2 separate regions of the Homo sapiens genome follow, and region 1 is linked to region 2. Evidence: promoter capture Hi-C in 16 types of primary human blood cells and fetal thymus (Javierre and others, 2016). All regions are on one chromosome and are shown on one strand. The core of a region is centred on a gene start or on the middle of the fragment in contact, and the rest is flanking DNA. Distances in the headings are between cores, read along the strand shown.

What was found. Contacts are between HindIII fragments. The CHiCAGO score rates a contact against its expected background, and 5 or more counts as called.
Region 1: a fragment that was not itself captured here is called in contact with the fragment with the promoter of NPTX1 in region 2 in 1 of 17 cell types (naive CD4 T cells); the score reaches 5.5 in naive CD4 T cells.

Annotation. Positions count from the first base shown.
Region 1 is chr17:81,065,495-81,072,659 of GRCh38, reverse strand. The region is part of intron 3 of BAIAP2 (BAR/IMD domain containing adaptor protein 2); the gene reads right to left. Among named protein-coding and RNA genes, the nearest start is that of BAIAP2, 34 kb to the right of the region's middle. The HindIII fragment of the contact is 7,227 bases long and covers 518-7,165 here.
Region 2 is chr17:80,471,632-80,478,806 of GRCh38, reverse strand. It overlaps NPTX1 (neuronal pentraxin 1), which reads left to right and starts at 2,200. Exons shown (of 5, transcript NM_002522.4): 1 at 2,200-2,804; 2 at 3,089-3,296; 3 at 5,363-5,607; 4 at 6,896-7,075. The coding sequence starts at 2,361. RefSeq lists an enhancer at 3,213-3,746. The HindIII fragment of the contact is 19,396 bases long and covers 1-6,438 here.

The sequences.
Region 1 (7,165 bases), core at 2,882-5,381, 590 kb before region 2:
GGTGTCTGCAAAGGTTGAAGACCCCACGGACTTGGGTCAGCACCTGCCAGAGCTCTCCCAGGAGGGTTAGCCTCCTTCTCGGACAGGGGCCAGGAATTCAGGAAATGCCAGGTTCGGGTGGGGACGTGGAGACGGCTGTGAGGCTGTGGCCCAAGTGGGGCCTGGAGCAGATCGTCTGCTCTTGGCACCAAGGTGAAACTGACGAGTGTGGGCGTCAAACAGGGCAGGAGAGTTTTCCACTGGACCCTGAGAAGTGCTCAGGTGGCCACAAGGCATGGACATAGGGACACTGAGGAGAGCCCCTCCTGTTCCCTGATTACATGGGTCAGGCCGGGCTGCGCAGGAGGAGGTGAAGGAGCAGGAAGCCGGAGGGAATCAAGGAACATTGTTGTGGACTGAGGTGGGGCCTGCGCAGGTCTCCCAACGCTGCCCTGGGGCACTCCAGCCATCTGGGAAAAGGGAGTGGCAGCCCTTGGGCAGGTGGAATGCAGATGGCCCAGCCCACCCTCCCCAAGCTTCTGAGGGCTGGAGCCAGCCGGGGAGGGCACGGCACCCACAGCCCGCAGGGAACCCCAGCCCTACGTGGGCGCTCGAAGGAGGAGCAACAGGACCAACACAACCACGATGATGGCCCAAGAGACTGGGAAGGCCGGGGAGGCCGGAAGCAGAGGGGGAGGGGGGGATGATCACGGACGAGAGGAGAGGCAGCAAGGAAATGGAACAAGATGCCCCAGACTCTGCAGAGGCATAGACCTGCATGCTCCGGCGCCTCCGTGCCACGCTGGAGGAGGGGACCGGCCACCCACAAGGCCCTACTTGGCGTGGGAACTGCTCCAATTCTCGGCTGCCTCCTGGACAGAGCTCGGATGGCAGAATGTGAGCCACAGCAGCTCGTGGCGGTGCGGGATGGTGCGGAGAAGGCATCCGACCCCCGCGCTGAGTCTGCCGGGAGCTGGACGTGAGTCCCTCAAACAGAGGCTCAGGGACGGACGGGCGCTGCTACCGAGTGGTCAGGGTGCTCTTTTTGGCCAGTGGACACTGAGGGCACAGAAACACTCGTTTCCTGGATATTTCTGTTGCTTCCGGAGGCACTGGAACTCTTCTCCTTTCTCTGCTGGTGGAAGAGGGGCTCTGTGCGAGAGGTCAGCTGCTCCAAGCTGGCTGTGAGCATGCATCACCTTCCAGAGCCTTCTGAAGTAGCTATCCACAACTCTCAATTATCCTGGTGGCTTCCAGAGCCCAAAGGCACCTCGAGAGCTCATCACCACCCACCTGGGCAGGGCTCGAACAGAGCGCCCTCATCACGGGGAAGGACAGATGGCCAGGGGGCTGACAGGACATCTTGCTATCAGAGCCCCCACAGGGGCCAGGGGACCAGATCCAGTGCTGACCCAAAGCCCAAGGACGCCACCTCGGGGGTGACTCCCAATCCCGCCCCTTCTCTCTGCTGCCCTCCAGCCACCAGCTTCTCCTTGGGAGAAGCAGAGTTCTTCTCCCACCTACAAAAAAGGCAAAAATGGAATGTGGCCAGCGGGTAACCAATGGGGGAAAAAAAAAAAATCAATGTCTGTGTTGCCATGGTGATGACGGTAGCTGACGCTGCTTCCCCACACACAGTTCTGAAACCAAGCAAGTCCAAAGAGCCACCTTGGTGTCAAGGCTGGGTCAGCATTCAGATCTTGGACATGGGGGTGGAGGGAGAGCAGAGGCCGAGGCTGCCTTCTGTCATCCACCCCCACTGTCCTGAGCCACCACTCCAACCCGCCGGCTCCAAGGATGGGCCCTGGACCAGCAACGCACCATCACGCTGGGATCAAGGACCCTCAGGCCTGCCCGGGCCTCTGGCACCAAATCTGCTCACACACTCCCAGCGTCCCAGGCAGACGGGGGCTCCCGGGTCAGCGGCCATCCACCCGGGGTGGCTGGAGTGGAGGCTGCAGAGGGCCCCTACGTGACACACAGGGGTGGAGATGAGGCTCTGCGGGGGCTGAGCTAACCCGACACCTTCTCCCCACGGGTTGAGCGACCTGGCCAAGCCCAGCTCCCACAGCTGCAGCGGGACAGGCACGCCAGGGCCTTCTCCTGCCCCCGCGTCCACTAGGAACCCCTCTGCAGCAACCCTCCCTGTGCCTCTCTCCTCCCTCCAAAGCACCTTTTGCCTCTTCCTTTGCCCAGTGTCCGCAAGGAGGTTTAAGGTCTGACGGGGCAGAGGGGTTTCTTTCCACATTTCCACCTCCCTTTTGGCCACAAGTGACCAAGGTTGCCCGGCAGAGCACATTCAATACCCAGCCCGAAGGCTGCCTGGACGTCCGCTCAGTGTGGAGGGCAGACCCAGGCCACAGCTTGGAGCAGGGCCTGTTCCTTTCTTCATGGGCAAATTTGCCTTGCAAGACCAACCTCTGGCCAGGCACGGTGGCTCGCGCCTGTAATCCCAGCACTTTGGGAGGCCGAGATAGGAGGATCACTTGAGTCCAGGAGTTCGAGACCAGCCTGGGCAACAAAGCAAGCTCTTGTCTCTACAAAAAGTTTAGAAAGTATACAGGCGTGACAGCACACACCTGTAGTCCTGGCTACTCAGAAGCTGAGGTGGGAGGATCGCTTGAGCCCAGGAGGCTGCAATGAGCTATGTATGACTGCGCCACCACACTCTAGCCTGAGTGACAGAGTGAGACTCTGTCTCCAAAAAGGGGGAAAAGACAACAACAACAACAAAAAACCAAGAAAACAAAAAACCCTCCAATCTTCCTGGGTACAACAAGTGCATCTCCAAAGACCCTGGTCACCTCTGCTGCCTGTTCAGGTCCCACGGCACAGCATCCTCCCAAGGTGCCCTGGGCATGGCTCCCACGTGACCGGCGAGACCAGAGGTGTCCACCGAGGAAGGCTGGGAGGCGAACTGAACCTTGCCTAGGAACGTACTGGCCAGACTGAGCTCGTGAGTGGACAGTCCTGGCGGGGGAGAGTCCCCCGAGTGGGCAGAGGGAGCTGCCATGGATGGAGAACCACGCCCCCCGCCAGGCTTTTCCAGGGGCCTCGCAGACTACACCTCCCGAAAAGGAAGGGGCTACTGCAGAGGCAGGGAACAGACTCGAGAACTCCCAGCAGGCGTCCTTGAAGCCAGCCCTGGACCCCAGCTGCCCAGAGTCCCATGGCATGAGCGGGGGCCGCCGAGAAGCCAGGTGGGCAGTTCAGACCGGCCGCCCCGTGGACCACTCCCCAGCCTCTCTGACCACCTTGCCAGGGGCCACTCTCCCTGTCACCCCTCCAGCACTCCATGGAGATGGCATGAGCGCCGCCCCTCGGTACTTGGATCCAGGACTATCTGTGCCCGCGTGCGTGCTCTGGCTGGGTGTGTGCACGTGTTCAGTCTCTGCCCGGGACACAGTCCAGTTGGCCCTGCAGTGATGTGACCGCCTGCATGTGACTGCTGGTAACAATTACAAAAATGCTTCCAATGTATAAACTGTACCTAGGAGACCGTCACGAATGCCCGTGGACCCACCATTCGGAGCTACCAGAAGTTGATGCTCTGCCGTTTGCCCTTCAGACGTTTAAACAAACAAGCACAGTGGGGACAGCCGGAGGACCCAGCGCATCCTTCTAAGCCCAGCCCCTGCCACCGGGATCACCCCTGGGGCTGCTGAGACCCTGTCCTGTCTGTTTCTACGGGGCCCAGTGCCAGACAAGTCGTCAAATGTGTGACTGGGGAGTGGAGGAGCCTGGAGCAGCTGGAGCTCGGCAGCGGGCACACAGGAGCATGTCTGGGACAACGGTCACAGACACTGTGGGCAAGGGAACCCACTGGCACCTCCCACAGCCAGGAACGCAAGGCTGGACAGAGACACTGGCAACCAGATATGGCCCCCCATCCTGAGAAAGACACCTCCCTGGGACCGGAGTCCCCCCAGGCCCTCCCGCAGGACTTCATGTCACAACCAAGGAGCCACCGAGGTGGCCTTCTCTGCAGTACCAGGCTTGGGGGCACCCTCCCCAGGGCAGGGAAGCGGGGACAGGGGACACAAGAGCGGAGCCACCTGAGACGGGCTCCAGTGCTGGCTCCGTCTGTGCGGCTGCTGACTGCGGGGTCCTTGGGTCGTGGGCTTTGTTTCACACTGATCCTGGGGTCAGGGATTCAGGAGCGGCTTCTGGTTTGGGCCCTGCATCGCTGCCCTCCTACAGCTGGGGCCAAAAGAACACCCGTGACCCGGATGGCACTGACCAGGGTCCTGGCCTCCGGGGACAGACCCCCTCAGACAGCTGCTCTGCAGGGGACAGAAGCCATTCAGACCTCCAGTTCCTCACGCGTGCCCGAGGGGGAGACCCCTGCCATGGGCGTGGTCTGCTCCTAACCAGCCTCGCCTATCTGTGCTCACTGATTATTGACCAGGAGGGAACATTGCTCCTGGGAGAGAGTTTCTCAGCCACTGACTCGCTCCAAACCCTACAAGATGCAAACAGGAGCAGAGGCCGCCCTGAGAGCACCGGCCGTCATCTCCCTGCGTGGCTGCGACCAGTGTCTGCCAGGCCTGACGTGCCCACCCTTCTGCCAACTGGCACCACCCAAAGTGCATGGGACCCACGTCCCCCAGGACCCCAGAGATGCAGACACCTGCCCACAGAGGCTCCTGAGCCGGCACCTGTGCCCCCAGGCCCCTCGGCCTGCGGCCAACACTGTGTGGGGCCACATCGGAGGCAGCCAGCACCTCAGCAGCTCCTGGCTTGAGGAGGAAGGCTGAGCGGCTCCTCTCTTTCCCTCCCTAGGGAGCACTGGTGACAGTACCGAGGGACGGCAGGTGCCATCAGCTGTGCCCCAACCGGGGGACAGGCAGCCCCGGCATCTCAGGGGAGAGACCAGCTGTCCTCCCTGCTCTGGCCGGCTGAGGCCTGACGCTGTGGCGTGAGCGCTCAGGGAGGGTGCCTCCCCGCTGCGATGCTGGGCCAAAGGGAGCAGCAGCAACGCCGGCAGAGGACACCTGGCCGGGCCTCAGAGCCTCTTGCTGAGTGAGACTCCAGCAGCCCCTCTGTGGGTGACGCTCGGAGCTACTGATCACCAGCAGGAAACGGCTCAGGATCAAACCACGAGCAGCCAGACCAGGGGCCCACACTTGGCTGCCGCGGCTGCAACACGGCCAATCCAATCAGGACGGCTGCTAATCTCCCTGCAGAGCTCAGCCTGCACCGCAAAGCTGTTGGCAGGCGGGCAGGGCTGGGCCATCCCCAGCCACAGCCAGAGGGGAACAAGGCCCTCCACCCGCCCACCATGAGGCCCCCCCGCCCCCTTCCCCTGCTCAGGTGCTGGAGGGTCCCCACAGAGTTCAGCAGGAGCACGCGCCTCTGCGAACAGGCGGTGGGGGCCTGAAAGATCCCCATGGGGCGGGAGGCAGGGCCCAGGGCAGCGTCCTTCCCAAGCATCCTGGTGGCTTCTTCAGGTGGCTGTCTCTGGAGCACCCCTGCCGGAGTCCTACTGTAGGGAGGGAGGAATAGTGTGGGGGGGAAGGGAGGTACAGGCAGGTCGGAGCAAGCGGTTGGGCTCTGGAAGGGAAGCCCCCAGGCTGGGCTTGGGCCAGGGGCATCTCGCTTCCCTCTCATCTGCAGGCGCCGCTGTGCTGGAGGTCCGGGACCAACCAGGGACCTCCGTGTCAGGCCCCCTCGGGGATGTAAGGTTGATCTAATTAAGGCCTTCAAATGGTGTCTGTCAGGAAGACTTGGCAGCCTACAAGGCAAGGCCCTGCCGTGAGGGCCTGAAAGCAGGTGTCATGCCCATACACTGCTGTCACAGTCACTGGCCCAAAGGGAGGCTGCGGCCTCCACCTGCAGGAGGAGGCTGGGACACATGGGCCCCTGGGTGCACTGTGCATGGAGCCGCCTGAGCCCAGAGGGGCCGTGACACAGCCTGGCCTCACAGAGAGCAGGAGGCCCTACCAGGTGAGTGACATGAGATGGTGCTTCCGAGCCACTTTGGCCAACGGGAGCCACTGGGGACAGCCCCGAAGTCCCCTTGGGGTTCACATGACCAAGGACCTTCCCTTCTGCACAGGGCCCCACGTTTCAGAGACGCAGAGATGCCGCACACACGGAGGGAGCCACTCAGTGCCTCTAAGAGGGAGGCCGACACCTGCGGGGACAGGAGGGGCACCACCTGACCTGTGGGGGCCCCAGGCCCCAGCTCTCCCAGGTGGGCATTCAGAACACCTGCCTCACTCTGGACAACGAGGCGTGCACTGCAGCCAACAGCTATGGGAAGTTTCCAGGCCACACCTTAATTCAGTGACTCAGTGACCAAAATCCAGCCCACAGTTTCAGGCAGGGACAATGCCCCCTGCCAGCTAACATCCTCATTCTGAGGCTGGCCCAACAGGGAGCTCCTGCCACTCTCCCGGGCACCTGGGGATGCCGGGCAGCTGGCAGAGGACAGGCCCAGTGCGCCCAGCAGGTACACACACGCCCTGTGATCACAAACAAGCATGCTGTGGGCACCAGCGGGTACACAGCGGCCTCTTCAAAGGACAAAAACACACCAGAGGCCTCCAGAGATGGGAAAGGGCTGAGCAAAACAGCCTGGCTCAGGTGTTCCGTGGCAGGGCCACAGAGCAGTTGGACAAGAAACACAACAGGCTCAGGGCCCCAGATAGACAGGCTGGACATGCGGGTCTGACCACACAAAGGAAGTGCAGTGCTCTCTGCTGGGGAGGGCTGCGGCCCCGCTCACTGCAATGACAGCCCCCCTCACTGAAGACAGGGCACCGTCCTGAAGAGCCGACAACTCTCTACAGGGTGATTAGACCTTAGCCTCCCTGCACAGCCAGGCCAAAGGGCAGCTACGTGACCCTCTTTTCATACAGACGGTTCTGGCACACAGTGCTAGAGCCACCTGCCCAGGTGTACACGTTGTACCAGGACCCCAGGTCACTGGGACTCTGGCCTGCTCCTCCCATCTGCCTCTCCCGTTGGCCAGCATAGACCCAGGCTCAGCCCAGCTCTGTGCGCCCAGCCTCGGGTGGGGGAGCGAGAGGGCCTGGGCCATAGGCAGCTGTCAGCAGCAAGGGGGTGGAGGGGTGTGCTCAGGAGTGCAGTCACAGGACACTGCAAACCACAGCTGTCGGTGAGGCAGACTGGACAGCTGTCCTCCACCCGCACAAAGAACCAGTGCCACGTCCACCCAGGC
Region 2 (7,175 bases), core at 951-3,450:
ACTCCCTTCCTCTGCGGAAGGGGGACACGCTCCTCTGTGCCGAGGTGCCAGGCCGCTGAGATCTGCTGCCCTGGAGGAAAAGCCAGGCAGGGTCCCTGGCCTTGGGCGGCTAGGAAGGCTCCACGGCTGCTGGGGATAGAGACGCGGGGCCAGGCTAAGGGTTCCCGCCCCGTCTAAACAGCCTGCCCTGGGCAGGGCAGGGCTCCTCTCCCGCGCCCGCGCGCTCTCGGCTGGGCACGGTCCGGCTCCAGGCCTGACGGGCGCGGCCTCCCCACTGGACGCGTGCGGGAGGGCGGCGAGGCCAAAGCGCTGGGGCCAGGAGGGCACCCGCCTAGCGGCTCCCTACGGGAGTTGGGGCAGAAGACGCCGCGACCCCGCGCGGGTAATTTCTCCCGAGGCGCGTTCCAGCCCGTGGCGCTGCCGGCGCAGACCCCGCGTGGGGACCGGCGAGGCTAACCCCTCCTGCGGCCCGGGGTCGGCAGAGCACGCAAGGGGCCGCGGGCCGCGTGGGTTTGGGCGCGCCGTGGTGGGCAAGCGGGGCCAGCGGAGCGGGAACCCGCACACCCTCCGAGCGGAGCCGAGGACAGGCCCGTGCGGGCCGCGGGGTCCCTCTGGCGCCAGGAAGCGGCGGCCGAAGGAGACAACGAGAACGCAGCCCCGGCTCAGGGAGGCTTAAAAGCTGAGATGCTGAACGCAGACGGCGGGCGCTCGGGGGCTGGGGGGCGGGTAGAGGCCGCCATTTCTCAAAAAGGTCTCCATCGAGCCGGCCTCTGCTCCCGCCCGAGGGGCGGACGCCCGATCCCGGCACCCGGGACTGCCCGTGGGTCCCTGCTGGCTGGGGACCCCCAGCCCCCGGCTGCGCGCAGGGAAAGGCTGCAGAACGCAGAGACCAGAGAAGCCGGGGGCGGCGGGGAGGGGTCGGGGGGCCACGGCTGTAGCCCGGCCCCGCAGTCTCGGAGCCTCAGTTTCCTTCTCTGTACCACGGGAGCGTGGACGGAGGGATTTCCGAGGCTTTGACCGCTCTGATAGCCCCGGGGCGGGGCGGGGCGGGGCGGCTGCGCCAGCCCTGGTCCTGAGCCCCCAGCCCGGCGCCGGAACCCGGACCGCGATCTCGGGAGCCGAGCCCCGCGGTCCAGATGAAGGCGCGAGTGCGCGGGTGCCGGGTGGGGTGTCTGAGCGAGAGCGGAGCTTCTCAGGTGGACGCCCCCAGCCACCTCCGGGACCCTTCCTGCTGGCCTTTGGGCCTGAGAAGTGGGCGCGGCTGGACAGACGGGAAACAGCCCCCCACGCACAGGTGGACACCCGGGGATACCGGGCGCGCGCGGCGCCTGGCAAGGGGAAGCTGCTGGAGACGCGGGCGGCTGCTCCCGCGGGGCCCCCTTCCGAAGCGCCGCTGCGAACGTCCAGCCCCGGCGACGCCGCCTGCCCGCGATCGGGCCGGCGCCGCGGACAGGAAAGGCTCGATCAGCTAGGTCTGCCTCCGAGAAGTCCCCAGCGCCCCGCCCGCACGGGGTGGGGACTGACAGTCCCCCGGGGACGGGGCCGGGTCCACAGAGCCCGGGAGCTGGGGGAGGGGAGGCGCCGGGGGCCCCGACCCGTGGGAAGTCCCTGTACCCAGGCTGCCCGGCGGCTTCTCAATAGCACACGGACATCTAAGAAACGCGGGGCGGCCCGGTGACCCCCGCTCTGGACTTAGTGGCGCCGCGAGGCCCCACTCCGAGCCGTTGACCACCGGGCACTCGGGTGTTGACGACCTGGGTCCTTGGGCACCCAGCCCGGCTCCAAACGACCCCGGCCCAAGGGTGTTCAGTGCAGCCAGGAGGGCCGAACCGAATTCTATCTCCCGGACGCGGTGGTTTCCCGCCCGCCTGGAGCCCCGTCGGAGGTTCGGGGACACCACGCAGGTGGTCCATCCTCGAGTCCGGGGCCGGAGCCCGACTTCCTTCCCCCTGAGCTCTCGGAGCCTTCGGGGCAGCAGCGCCGGCCCAGGCGGGGGCGGGGGAGGAGGGGGCCGCGGCAGCTCCCAGAAGGGCGGGGGGGACGCGAGCGGAGGCAGCCCCGGTGGCGCGCTCGTGAGACCCCCGCCGCGCCGCGGGCCCGGGCCGCGGACAATTAAAGCGGGATTCCTCCCCCGCTGACGTCGGCGGCTCGAGGCCCCTCCCGCGGCGGCATAAAAGGCGCGGGCTCCGCAGCGCAGGCGGCAGTGGGGGCCTGATAGCGCGGCGGTGTGGACCGCGCGGCCGAAGAGCGCGGCGCCCAGAGCGCGGGCCGCTCGCGGAGCCACAGCCCGAGCCGGGTCCCAGCCGGAGCCGAGCCCCAGCCGAGCCGAGCCGGGCCCGGAGCGCCCGGTGCCCGCAGCCATGCCGGCCGGCCGCGCCGCGCGCACCTGTGCGCTGCTCGCCCTCTGCCTCCTGGGCGCCGGGGCCCAGGATTTCGGGCCGACGCGCTTCATCTGCACCTCGGTGCCCGTGGACGCCGACATGTGCGCCGCGTCCGTGGCCGCCGGCGGCGCCGAGGAGCTCCGGAGCAGCGTGCTGCAGCTCCGCGAGACGGTGCTGCAGCAGAAGGAGACCATCCTGAGCCAGAAGGAGACCATCCGCGAGCTGACCGCCAAGCTGGGCCGCTGCGAGAGCCAGAGCACGCTGGACCCCGGAGCCGGCGAGGCCCGGGCGGGCGGCGGCCGCAAGCAGCCCGGCTCGGGCAAGAACACCATGGGCGACCTGTCCCGGACACCGGCCGCCGAGACGCTCAGCCAACTCGGGCAAACTTTGCAATCGCTCAAAACCCGCCTGGAGAACCTCGAGGTCCGCGCGCGCCCTCGGCTCCGGTTCCCCCTCCGGCTCGCTCGCCCCTCTGCCCTCCCCCACCCCGTTCCCTACCCGGCCAGGCATCCCCCGCCCTCGCCTCAGCCGCGCGGGTGCCCGGCCGGTGCCTCCCCGCGCCTGCGAGGCCCCGCGGCGGCCACTCGCCCCAGCTCCCTGCCAGGCCGCCCCCGCAGTCGCCCAGAGGGGACCGCGCCGCGGGCCTTCCAGCACGGTCCCCGCGCCTCGCCTAACGGTGTGGTTTCCCCCGCCCTTGCACCCCGCAGCAGTACAGCCGCCTCAATTCCTCCAGCCAGACCAACAGCCTCAAGGATCTGCTGCAGAGCAAGATCGATGAGCTGGAGAGGCAGGTGCTGTCCCGGGTGAACACCCTGGAGGAGGGCAAGGGGGGCCCCAGGAACGACACCGAGGAGAGGGTCAAGATCGAGACCGCCCTGACCTCCCTGCACCAGCGGATCAGCGAGCTCGAGAAAGGTACTGGGGCCAGGGGGAGCCGTGCTGCCTGCCTGCACCTGCTTGCCCGACCCTGCCTCGGTCCCGATCCCTAACAGCCCAGCTCTGCACTGTGCAAGCCTCAAGCCGCTCCGCTACCCCCAACCCCTGCACCGCTTTCTCATTCCCCGCACCCCTTCCCAGGTTCTGGGCTTCTAGTCGGTGTTTCTATCAGGGCTGGGTGCCTTGGGCTGGGGCTGTCTCTGGGAAAGGGGATTGCATAGTGCCCCCTCCCCCATCCAGACACACTCACACACTCGCTGGATTTTTCAAGTCTGATTTGTTTAATCCTCAGTAACTTTGCACAGTGGCTGTCGCTGGCTCAAACCCTCCCTGCTTAAGAAAGCCTGTCTCTCCCTGGTCCCCAGCCTCAGCGTACAGCTGGGTGCAGGCTGGGGCTGGGCGCTCTCGTTCCCCGGGCCGCTGAGGCTGTTAAGCAGGTTTCTTCCCGGCTGCCATGCCCCCGGTGTCCTCTCAGGATCTCCAGCTCCTCCCCACTTCTGTCCTGAACCCCTACCCTGAGGTTTTCTTTTCTGAGTGACCCAAGTCCTGGCATCTTTCAAATCCCTGAGGTTTCTCAGTCACCAACTCAGGCCAGCCAGTCTATCACCCAGGGCGCCTGGATGAGCGCTGGAGGCTCTGTCTTGAAGTCGCAGAAATCAAACAAGGTTGTAAAAGGGGAGGGGGGGGGGTGCCCGGTGCGGAGCAAGGCCACGTGACCCTGCTCAGACCGCAAAATGTGCCGGACAGATTTAAACAGTGCCATCTTAAGGCTTGTTATGTAACTGAAAAACAGATCAGAAGGAAGGACCTCAGGAGGGAGGGAGAGGGAAGGAGCGGAGATTGGGGAATGAAAAACACCCGGAGAAAGGCCAGGGGCTGGGCCCCTCCCTATCCCCCACTGCAGGCCTCAATGGGTTGGGGTAGCCGCTGGGGTGCTGCACTGAGGGGGCCTGCCCTGCTCTGCTCCCTGCCAGTTGGTTTAGAGGAGGGGGTGGTTGCTGACCGGGCAGGATGTCTTCTAGAAATAATTTTTGGCCTGGGGAACTGGTTTCTTTCTGGGCTTCCTGGCAGGACCACGGCTGCTCACCCAGGGATTGACCAAGGGGTGTGTGTTCCTGGGCTCTGGGCCTGCTACTGTGCCCATTGCTGGCCAGGAATGTTTTGCCTGGAGTCAGTCACACCATACCCAGGGTGCCACAGTATATAGATGGGCTATGGGGGTTGGCGCTTACGGGAGAAGTGGCCGGTGGGGAGGGAGAAGGTGGGCCTTGTGGAAAGGGAGGCCACCAGGCCTGGAACCTGAGCTGTGAGGACACTTACTCACCTGAGAGTGTGGCGGCATCCTAGAGCAGTCACCTTGGGGAGCCCTGGCGCCCAGAGTACTCCCAGCTCCTTGCTGCCCTGCCCTCTCAGCAGAGCTCCAGGCAGAGTCCCTGCTCCAAGGAAGGGCCTTGGAGGTGGGGAGCTGCCCAGCCTCACACCCAAGAGGCATTGGTGGGTCAGAGGCACATCTGGCCTGGAGGGAAGTGTGTGGGCACCAGGGCCTGGCTGTCGGGTGGGGAGAGGCAGGAGCAGAGCCTGGGATTGAGCGAGGAGAGGCTCTGAGCCCCGCCCCATCCTGGAATCAGGTCGGTTACTCTCAGGGTAGCTAGCCTCGTTCCTCCTCTGCAGCCACCCCTGCTCCTTGGGTTGACTTGGCTTGGCGGCTGTCCCCATTCCCTTCTCATGCCCACCACGCAGCCCAGTGTTGATGCAGCAGCCCACCAGGCACTGCCCCCCACCCCCATCTCCCCAAGGATGCCAGCACATGGGCGTGACAGCAGGCCAGACCTGGAGCATGAAGAGCTTGGGTCAGCTCTTTACAGACTGGCCCTGTGCCTTGGGGCAAAGTACTTGACCTGGGAAGCTACCCGCTCTGCGTCTCCAGAATGGAGACCGGAGCCTGCCCTGGCCACGCATCACAGAGCTTGGTGGGGACCGAACTCAACTCAGACACCGATAAGCACTTCACGCAGGTGCAGATGTCAGGACTGTGTCTTCCGCAGGTCAGAAAGACAACCGCCCTGGAGACAAGTTCCAGCTCACATTCCCACTGCGGACCAACTATATGTATGCCAAGGTGAAGAAGAGCCTGCCAGAGATGTACGCCTTCACTGTCTGCATGTGGCTCAAGTCCAGCGCCACGCCAGGTGTGGGCACGCCCTTCTCCTACGCTGTGCCCGGCCAGGCCAACGAGCTGGTCCTCATTGAGTGGGGCAACAACCCCATGGAGATCCTCATCAATGACAAGGTAGAGCAGCCCCCGGGCTCACAGGGCGGCAGGGCGAGGCCCCAGGGCCCCAGCTCATGTTGCATGCGGAGACAGGGCTATGGTGGCCTCAGATGTTGATGGGGCCCCAAGGAAAGTGTTTGCCAGGTGGGACTGAGGGAGGGGGAGGGTGAAGACCAGGAGAAGTGGTAGGAGCCCCCTCACCTGTACTGGGAGAGCAGGGAGAGCTGGACCTTCCCGGATGCCTCCTGGGGTGGGTACGGGAGATGGCGGAGAACGAGCCATGGGGCCTGGCCCTGCCCGATGATGTGATCTGGACTCCTCCACCAGCTGGCCTTGGAACTGGCTTTGCCCCTCCATAGCAGGGACCCAGAGATGCTCTAGCGGGGTGAGGGGTCCTTAGAGATTTTTCCTGAGTCCAAGTCTATCCCACTCAGCCCCCTAACTCTCGGGAGGAGGACAGGTCTGTGTGATCCCTTGGAACAGGACAGCACAGGCAGCCTTTCCCTCTAGTGAACATTCTCCATCCTCCCCTGTTAGCTATGGAACTAGCTGCCAGCTTTCAAACTGTCTCAAGTCCAGGCCAGCAGTGGTAGTCAATGGCTAAAACCTGGGCTGGGAAGTGGATTCCACGCCCTTGTTCCTGTTGCTCTTCCCCACAAAGGGCTGTGCCATTCTGGGCCCCCTTTCCCCAAGCGGAAAGGGTGTGAAGTTTCTTTCCTCACTGTCTGCTGGACCGTCATCCTCCCGACCTGGAATGGCAGTGGGAGAGTGAAATTCCAGGTTGGAGGCTGGTCTGAGCTTTAAAAGGCATCGTGCTCCATGACATCTCTCAGATCCTCGGCAAAAGCTTGCCGTGTTGTAGAGTGAGAGGGTGTAACAGCTAGAGATGGGACATCGGAAGAGAGAGGAGAGGCCAGCAAGGAGGCTGCACAGATGTCGCACGGAGCCTTGAGAGGCAGCAGTGAACTCAGACACCAGGGACGGCTCTCCCTGGTGTAGACTAGGGCTTGTTGTGTAGACTAGCAAAGAGGGAGGAGGGTGAGTAGGAGTGAAGAGACTGCACACCCACATGGCCCTTGGGGGTTCCCTCGGTAGAGCCTTACATTTCCTGTGTGATTCTGTGCCCCACGCCCAGGCGGGGCTGACAGACGCTGAAGTCTGGGGCAGTAGGTGCTGTGAGAATTCAGTAATAGTTATTGACATTTACTTTGCAAGTAGAGATAGGAACAACTGAGGCAGTGAAGATTATGGCTTCTGGGCTGTACCCCTGTACTCACCAGCTGGCGTCTGTCATTCTCCTTCCCAGGTGGCCAAGTTGCCTTTTGTCATCAATGATGGCAAGTGGCACCACATCTGTGTCACCTGGACCACCCGGGACGGGGTCTGGGAGGCCTACCAGGATGGCACGCAGGGTGGCAGTGGCGAGAACTTGGCGCCCTATCACCCCATCAAGCCCCAGGGCGTGCTGGTGCTGGGCCAGGAGCAGGTACTGTGCTGGATGTGGTGGGGAAGGGGAGAGAGCTTCAGAACCAGAGGCTGGGAAGGGGAAGAGGAGCAAGGAGGGAGGGAGGTAGCCGGAGAAGTGG